Linked DNA regions of Homo sapiens: all the other regions are linked to region 3. The links are contacts of gene promoters, found by promoter capture Hi-C in blood cells and fetal thymus (Javierre and others, 2016). All regions are on one chromosome and are shown on one strand. The core of a region is centred on a gene start or on the middle of the fragment in contact, and the rest is flanking DNA. Distances in the headings are between cores, read along the strand shown. Region 1 overlaps MED12L (mediator complex subunit 12L). Region 2 overlaps MFN1 (mitofusin 1). Region 3 holds the start of PDCD10 (programmed cell death 10).

Evidence for each region. Contacts are between HindIII fragments. The CHiCAGO score rates a contact against its expected background, and 5 or more counts as called.
Region 1: a contact is called between a fragment that was not itself captured here and the fragment with the promoter of PDCD10 in region 3, in 1 of 17 cell types (total CD4 T cells). The highest score is 7.5, in total CD4 T cells.
Region 2: a contact is called between a fragment that was not itself captured here and the fragment with the promoter of PDCD10 in region 3, in 2 of 17 cell types (neutrophils and non-activated CD4 T cells). The highest score is 7.3, in neutrophils.

The regions. Positions count from the first base shown.
Region 1 is chr3:151,213,443-151,216,142 of GRCh38, forward strand. The region is part of intron 16 of MED12L (mediator complex subunit 12L); the gene reads left to right. P2RY14 (purinergic receptor P2Y14) reads right to left here. Exons shown (of 3, transcript NM_014879.4): 3 at 1-898. The coding sequence starts at 874. Among named protein-coding and RNA genes, the nearest start is that of GPR171, 12 kb to the left of the region's middle. The HindIII fragment of the contact is 6,767 bases long and covers 1-2,700 here.
Region 2 is chr3:179,349,958-179,352,657 of GRCh38, forward strand. MFN1 (mitofusin 1) reads left to right here. Exons shown (of 18, transcript NM_033540.3): 3 at 1,943-2,078. Among named protein-coding and RNA genes, the nearest start is that of MFN1, 3.6 kb to the left of the region's middle. The HindIII fragment of the contact is 1,207 bases long and covers 811-2,017 here.
Region 3 is chr3:167,733,466-167,736,165 of GRCh38, forward strand. PDCD10 (programmed cell death 10) reads right to left here and starts at 1,427. Exons shown (of 9, transcript NM_007217.4): 1 at 1,197-1,427; 2 at 749-885. It overlaps SERPINI1 (serpin family I member 1), which reads left to right and starts at 2,256. Exons shown (of 9, transcript NM_001122752.2): 1 at 2,256-2,358. RefSeq lists a silencer at 1,059-1,188 and an enhancer at 1,239-1,678. The HindIII fragment of the contact is 6,113 bases long and covers 1-2,531 here.

The sequences.
Region 1 (2,700 bases), core at 130-2,629, about 17 Mb before region 3:
GGTCCAAGCATACATTTGCAGCAGATAGTAGCAGAGTGAATTCTTTCATATACCGCAAGATTTCTTTTGACTGGCAGCTGTAATGAGCTTCGGTCTGACTCTTTGTGTAGGGGATTCTGGCAATATGGTAAGGTACAAAACAGACAAAAAACACAAACACGATGCTGAATATGTTGCGGCTAGATTTCTTTTTGACCGAAGTGGAATTCCGACTTGACTTAAGGTGGGACTTAAAGATTTTCTTTGTGATAGCAGTATAGAAAACGATTAACAAAAGAAACACAATCCAGAAGATGGCCACGAAGATGTAGTTTGATGCTTTGTGCCACTTCCGTCCCAGTTCACTTTTCAGTTCTATACATTTTATTTGTGTAACCTCCCTAACACTCTGGTTGGTGAGAATAATATTTGGAACAGCAAGGAGGAGCATGAGCATCCATACTATCACTGACAGAAGTTTGCTGTAACTCACTGACTGGATGAAAGAAGTCCAAAGAGGCTTTACAATTTTATAATATCTGTCAAAGCTGATGAGCCCAAAGAACACAATGCTGACGTACATGTTGACGTAGAAGAGCACGGCAGAGACCCTGCACACAAACACGTTCAGCTGCCAGGGACCAAGGCCTGAGTCACCAAGGATCTTGAAAGGAAAAGTCAGGCTCATCACAAAGTCAGCAATAACAATGTTCTTGAGATAGATGATGAAACTCTTAGAGCTGGGCACGTAAAAGAATATCCATCCTGACACTCCATTGAGTAGGATTCCTGCAATGAAGACCATACAGTACAGCACAGGAATGATCTGCTGAGTGATCAGGAGGTTCTGAGAGCAGGATTCATCTGGAGGCTGTGTGGAGGTTGAATTGATCATCTTGTAACTTCTGAAGGCAGAGGCCTGAAAAGAGGTGTGAACTGGTCACTCATAGGGCACTTATGGCCTCCAAGACATTTGCTGAGTAATAAGGCAAAGGGCAATGAATATAGTCAAACCTACCAAATTTTTGAAGCCACCTTTTTACTCTGTGTAAGTTAGACACTCATCCCTCCCTCCCTCTGTTCTTCCTTTTCTTTCTTTTGGTCTTCCTTTTCTCCTTTCCCTCCCTCTTTCCCCCTTTACCCACCAACCCCCACTCCTTTCTTCCTTCTCCCCTCTCCCCCTCCCTTTTCCCTCCTCTTCCTTCTTCCTTTTTTTTGGGCAATGAAAAGGGAAGAATGGAGCAGACAGGTGGCAGTAAAGAGAAACTGGAGCAGCAGGGCAGTCTCTGAGAACTTCTAGGTAATACGGAGACCAGCATGCCCCTAAAATAATAATGGTTCCCTATAAAACTCCAGAGTTCTAGGAAATACTCATTTAGGTATAATCTTAAAAGGTAGTAACTGTAAAAGCAGAATTAATGTTTTATTTTATTCAGAATCCCATGTGTAATGTATTTTTTTAAAACCTATGTTGGAAATGTGATTGTTTTTTCCTAAAAGAGAAATTTTTATGGATTCATAAAAATCATTATAAATGTTTACATATTAAGAGCTATTCAGACGGACCTTACTTTTAGAAAAGTGTATTCTACATATATGTTGGACATGAAGACAGTGTCTAACAAACATATACATTCAAATGTTAACCGGTATTTTTGGTATGGGATTATGGGTACCTTTTCAATATTGAGCTTTTTTTTTTTCCCATTGAAAAACTGATTTGCATTATTTTAATAAATTAGAATACAAATACAAACAAATGATAAAAAGTACTTTAAGCATTCTGAGAAATGCTTCCCAAAGTACATTCTACATCTGTACTATTCAGTATGGTAGCCACTAGCCATGTGTGGGTATTGAGCACTTGAAATATGGCCAGTCCAGATTGAGATGTTCTGTTAAGTATAAAATGCACACTAGACTTTGCAGACTTGGAATGAAAAAATGTAAAATATCTCAGTATTTTTAATACTGATCACATGTTGAAGTAATATTCTACAAATGCTCTATTAAATAAAATATATTATTACTCTTAAATTTAACTTAATTTTACTTTTTAAGACTCTGGCTACTAGGAAATTTTAAATTACATATGTGTTTCACATTATGGTTTTATTGCACAGTGCTGTGCTAGGTGTTATCCAGAACTTCTATTGTTTAGGAATCCTGTATATTCTTCACTGATGTCGGAAGTGTTGATTTAGGGCAGAGGGAAGACTAGAATTAAATTCAAAAGGTTATTTGATATATCGGAACAGATGTTTACTGCCCATCTTATATGTGAACAGTACCAATTATCCTGCTTAAAACCCTTTAGTAGTCTGTCCTTGCCCTCAGGAGAATGCCCTAAGTCTGTAATGTTGAAGTCCTTTCTTGTTCTGCCTCCTGCTTCCTCCACCCCCAGCACTGAGTTCCTGCTGTCCTGGGCCCATCTGCCTCCTTTTAGGTTCTGTGATTTCTCTCAGCCTGGACCTTTGCACAGACTTTCATTTGTGTGGAAAACTGTTTCCATACCTTCTTGGCTGGCTAACTTCTCTTTATCCTCAAGGCCTCAGCTTAGCTGTCACTTTCCTTAGGAAACCTCAACTTTCCTAGCCTGGTTTGGGGTGGGTTGAGTGTGTGCTTATCATCCTGTGTCTTTCTCCTATCAACACTCCTCTCTCCAGCTGTTTGTCTCTTCCACTACTACAAGCTCCTTCAGAGGAGAAAGATCATGTCATT
Region 2 (2,700 bases), core at 164-2,663, about 12 Mb after region 3:
CCTGATCAACATGGTGAAACCCTGTCTGTACTAAAAATACAAAAATTAGCTGGGCCTGGTGGCAGACGCCTGTAATCCTAGCTACTCAGGAGGCTCGAGGAGGGAGAATCGCTTGAACCTGGGAGGCAGAGGTTGCAGTGAACCGAAGTCGCCCACTGCACTCCAGCCTGGGTGACAGAGTGAGACTCCATTTCAAAAAAAAAAAAAGATTATGCACCTCTCAACTATACAATGGAAAGGGAGGGATTCTGTAAATTTTTCCAGCGACAGTGGGGAAACCTTTGGTAGATTGGGAATCAAACTTTTTTTTTCATGTCTCTCCCAACCCTCTCTTACCATATTTTGAGCTCCTTTAGGGCAGGAGCCTGGGATTCATTGTATTCCTAGCACCAGACTTGACACAATTCAATGCTGAATGAGAAAAAAAAAATAGTAGTATAGAATCTTTGTTTCCAATTAGGAAATAATTTGAGCTGGCACAGTTGACTTTTTAAAAATATTTTTTTTTCTAAAAATAATAGGAAGTGAAAATGAAGTTAAATGTGTATTGTACGTGTTATAGATCATGCATCATGCTAGGCACTAGTGAAATGACAGCTTTAGAATCTGAATTCAGTTGTACAGGTTTTAGAACCTCAGTAAAAATGTTGCAAAAAGGAGACAAAGCAAATAAATCAAGAAAAACATACAAGAGCAAAAATAAAATGAAAAGCAAAAATAAATGTAATGATACTTAAACCAGTCTGTCCGTTATTCACCAAATTGCACATATTTTATTAATGCGTTAGAAAAGTATGGTGAGATATGAGAAGCTTAATTGGATGTGCACTGGAGAAGTTTTAAGTGGCAGTGTTTGTCTCTAATTAGGGTCATTCAGATAGCCAGATGAATCTTTTTGTTTTTGTTTTTGTTTTTTTGAGACGATGTCTCACTCTGTCACCCAGGTTGGAGTGCAGTGGCACCATCTCGGCTCACTGCAAACTCTGCCTCCGGATTCAAGTGATTTCCAGCTAATTTTTGTACTTTTAGTAGAGATGGTGTTTTACCATATTGTTCAGGCTGGTCATGAACTCCTGACCTCAAGGGATCTGCCCACTTCGGCCTCCCAAAGTGCTAGGATTATAGGCGTGAGCCCCCACGCCCACATGAATCTTCATGTCTTTACCTTCAAAAAGAGGTGATAAGAATGTAAACATCAGGTTATCTCCTATTCCTGAGTTATAAAAAAAACTGAAAGATTTTTCTATTTTTCAAACCCAGGCTTTTTCAACTACCTCCAGCCATGGAGGAGAGGTGAGGGCTGGGATGTGCGGTTAAACCCTAAACCTGATAAGAGTGAAAGTGGGATACAATCTGATGAGATCGAGTGCATTCAGGGTGGTATGGCTGTAGATAGGATACAACCTGTAATTCTCTTTCTTCTCTGTCTTTGTGTTAAGTGAGCTGTTTCACCTCATCCCTGGGGGAAGCAGATAGAACGTGGTAAAGTAGCAAGGTCTTTCCTAGCTTGGAGACCTTGCACTGTATCTTAATTTCTGAGGGGCTCCTATTCAAACCTCACTTTTTTCTCTCAGTATGTGGCTCCCCCTTCTGAGCTCAAGATCTGAAGATCCATTCAGTCAGGTTGGAACAATAATAGGTCAGTGTTAGGTTCTAGTTTCTCTCTTTAGAAATGTATTCTTGTCTCAAGGGTAGCTTGTATGTTTGAGACCTAGAAGTCCACTTTTGACTGTGCCCTTGCAACTTTTAATATTCTTGAAATTCTTTTGGGCGGGATTCTTGTGACCCATTGCCACGGAGTATGCACCTTTTACCAAACATTGAGATGCTGTGGGTGGCATGTTAACATAAAGCAAAAATACATACAATCTTAGGTATTCCATTATATAACTAACTTAATATTCATTTATATCACTTTTCTAATGCCATTTCAATTTTGCAGCAACATATAAGAATCCGGAACTTGATCGAATAGCCACTGAAGATGATCTGGTAGAAATGCAAGGATATAAAGACAAGCTTTCCATCATTGGTGAGGTGCTATCTCGGAGACACATGAAGGTGGCATTTTTTGGCAGGTAATTATTTATTATTACTTCTAAGATTAGTTTCCAGGAATCAGCTTTGTGTCTGATGTTTCAACAAGTAATATTTCTCCCATCCTCCCCCAGCCCCGCAAGTTTCTGCCTGTGTTGAATGTTAAAGCTGTTAGCATGTGAAAGAATTTGTGCATTTTACCTCCTGGTATAAAATGAAGCTTTATGAAAGTCAATCATATTTTTACCTTTTAATGATTCTCATCTCTAAGAATTGGCTTGTAGACAGTTTTAAGAATGGAAATATAGATAAATGATAAGCATACTTTGTGTTTTACTCTTTTAAGTTTACTTGATTATGTGAAAGTTTCAGAAGCTAGGATGAAATCACTTTTGTCATACCTAGACAGGCCTAGAAGGAAAGAGGCTCTTGTCTGAGATAACTATTTCCAAGGACTTTCTAGAAATTCTTTCAAATCTCCTGCTTTGATAAGACTTATCAATAAACATACTTTAGGACTGCCTTAATTCAGATAAAATGTTTTCAGGAGAGTTCTTGCCCAGTAATGGCATCTCCGCCAATGAACTGACAATAACTGGCGTTGAACCTCTGGAACCAAATAACTCTTGTTTCTAGGCAGCTTATGTAAATCTCTTTTTGCTA
Region 3 (2,700 bases), core at 177-2,676:
AAGTCACAGTTGATGCTAAGAAAAATAAAAATATGCAAGAGCCCAATTTTATTATTTGCAGACACACACACAAATACAGCCCAGAGTCAAGAAAATGGGGGAAAAGTAAAGTCTCAAAAAAGACGATGTTACCTCCAAGAAATGCAAAATACCTTCTTTTCTAGTAATGGGCACACTAAACTCTCCTAACGCTACATTATTTGAAAAAAGTGTAGTTTTGTGAAAGAATTCCAATCCCACTATTATCAGTTTTACAAAATGAGAGTAAAAACAGTCCTAAGGTAGAAAAAGAAAAGAATATTCTTCTAAGGATGGGATATATTGTTTAACTGTTGTTCTCCCATCCTATTACCTACCCGTAAAAATGAACTGTGAGAGTAGAGTCTATCATTTAATACACCCCTAAAAAAAGGGGAAAAATCTGTAAAAGTTGAAACTGGCCATTTTTATTTTTTCCAAAAGGATCTTTCCTTTATTGAGGAATTTCACTCCGGTTCAAGAAACAACTTTTTATCTCACAATGGCTTCTTAGATATACTATATAAAATACATTTACTTTGTAACTTCCTCCACCCTTTTCAAAAAGCACAACCAACGTCCCTACTCTAAAGCTGGACTCGAACCGAACTAGATTCAGAAAGTCTGTCCCTACGTGTGTGACCTTGGGCACGTCATATAATCCCTCGGTTTCCTCATCAGCATCCCAAAATGAAAGCGCTCTGAAAGCAGTAAAGGAGTAAAAACATACCTTAGGTATGACACCTAAGAGGGTCAAGTCTTTCTGTTTAAGGCAAAATTATCTCCTTAGAGGGCCACATCATTAAACTGGAACTGAATCCGTAGACCCCAACATTTGTCTCTTCCTTCTTCCAGTGCTCCTCTTCCCTCAAAGGGCATAACCCGAGTCACCCCCAAGAGCCGACTCCCAAGCACCCTTTCCTTCCTCCTCCCTTTTCTCTTACTTACAAAGCAGGGGGAAAACAGCAGCCTCACCTCTCGGTCCGAAGCCACACCTTCAAAGGACCCCACCCCAGGCACATCCGCCCTGTCCCCTCTCCCGGGGCACCAGGGGCCAACCTCGCCCTTCCCCTCCCGCCCCCACCTAGAGGAGACTTCCTGGAGGCGTTCGGGCCCAAGCCGGCAGGCGGCATTTACAAACCCGCTTTACGCCACTCGCGTAGGGTAACCTCGCTTACGCCCGTAGGGCCCCGCTCTCAGCCCCGTCCGCTCCGCCTGCCAGAACCAAGCCCAAGTGCCTCAGCCATGGCCCCTGCGTGACCCTAGACCTCTTCTGCTCGGTGCAGAGCTACGGGGACTGGGACAGAACAGCTACACCTTACCAGCAACTGAGGCACTGACTTCACTTCCCACCTTGCAGCCCTCTTCAACTCCCGGATCAATTCACTCCGGCGACGCCGGAAGGACCCAAGAGGAACCAGGCGTTGTCCGGAATCCTGCCCAGCCGGAGTCGTGCAGAGGCTTATGGGGACTCGTAGTCCCGCTCGCCGGCGTTGTCCGCAATTCCTGCAATCGGAAGACTACACTTCCCGGCAGGCCATGCGGGGGATCCTGAGGCGATGGGTGGTGACACTTCTAGCCAATAGTAGGAGAATTCCCTGCCTTTGCGGGAGGAGGTGAGATGAAGAGAGATGGTGCACGGAAAGGAGAGGAAGGGCGGGGCAAGCCCTCACCTGCGCCAATCAGGGTGCGGAGTAGGCCCCGCAGGCGCCTCACCCATTGAGGGGGCGGGCTGACAGAGCAGAGGAAGGAAGGGGGTGAGGGGCCTGTGGTGGGGATCCTGGGGCTGTCGGGCTGAGTATGCCGTGTGGGTGGAGAGGAAGCCTCGGGGAAATCGCCCAGGTGAAGGGAGGGCTTGGTGTGGGGACTTGCACTGGGCAGAGGGGCAGCTTCCCTGAGAGCAGCTAAGCCCCAGGCACACCGGGCATCCGGACACACAGGTCGGGGAAGGATAGGCTGAGCCGGGGCTCCCAGCAGAGACGCCTGGGTGGGGCAGGAGGCCGCTCCAGGTGTGAGCCACAGAGGAGGGGAGAGGGACCCCCACGGGAGTGGAAGTGGCAGAGCAGCTGCAGAAGTGCAGGGAGCGGAAAGGTACCAGGGCAGCTGCTTTCCGCTGCCTCCGGTCCGGGCAGCTGCAGAAACAGCAGGGGGAGGAGCAACAGCTGCCAAATTCGCCAACTAGAGGAGGGAGAGGCGGAGCTTGGGTCCCTGTAGAAGCCAGAGGCGCAGTCTGGACTGTAGTTTCCCGGGAGAGACGAAAGCAGGAACGAGAGCGGAGCGGAGCACAGTCCGCCGAGCACAAGCTCCAGCATCCCGTCAGGGGTTGCAGGTGTGTGGGAGGTAAGCGTGGGTCCTTCTTCGGGGCGTCTGCACTGCCCTGGAGAAAACGTCTTCCAATAGGAATTACATCAAGACACAGCTAAAAGAGTCCGCGTTGGGTTAGGAAACCGGTGCAAAACCTCTCGGGTGAAAGATTTACATTTTTCGACTTTAAGGGCAAAAAAGCAAAAGGAAGCTTGACTCTGGGTATAAAGGGCGTGGTTAGTGTTTTTGGTTTGAGTTGCACCAGTAAAACTGTTCTGGGAGATCTGAAGATTGAGAAAAATCCTGCTAATTGAGGACGAGGTGGATGTTATCTGGTGGATGTTATAGGTGCGTAGCCTATAAAAAGCAAAAATTTTG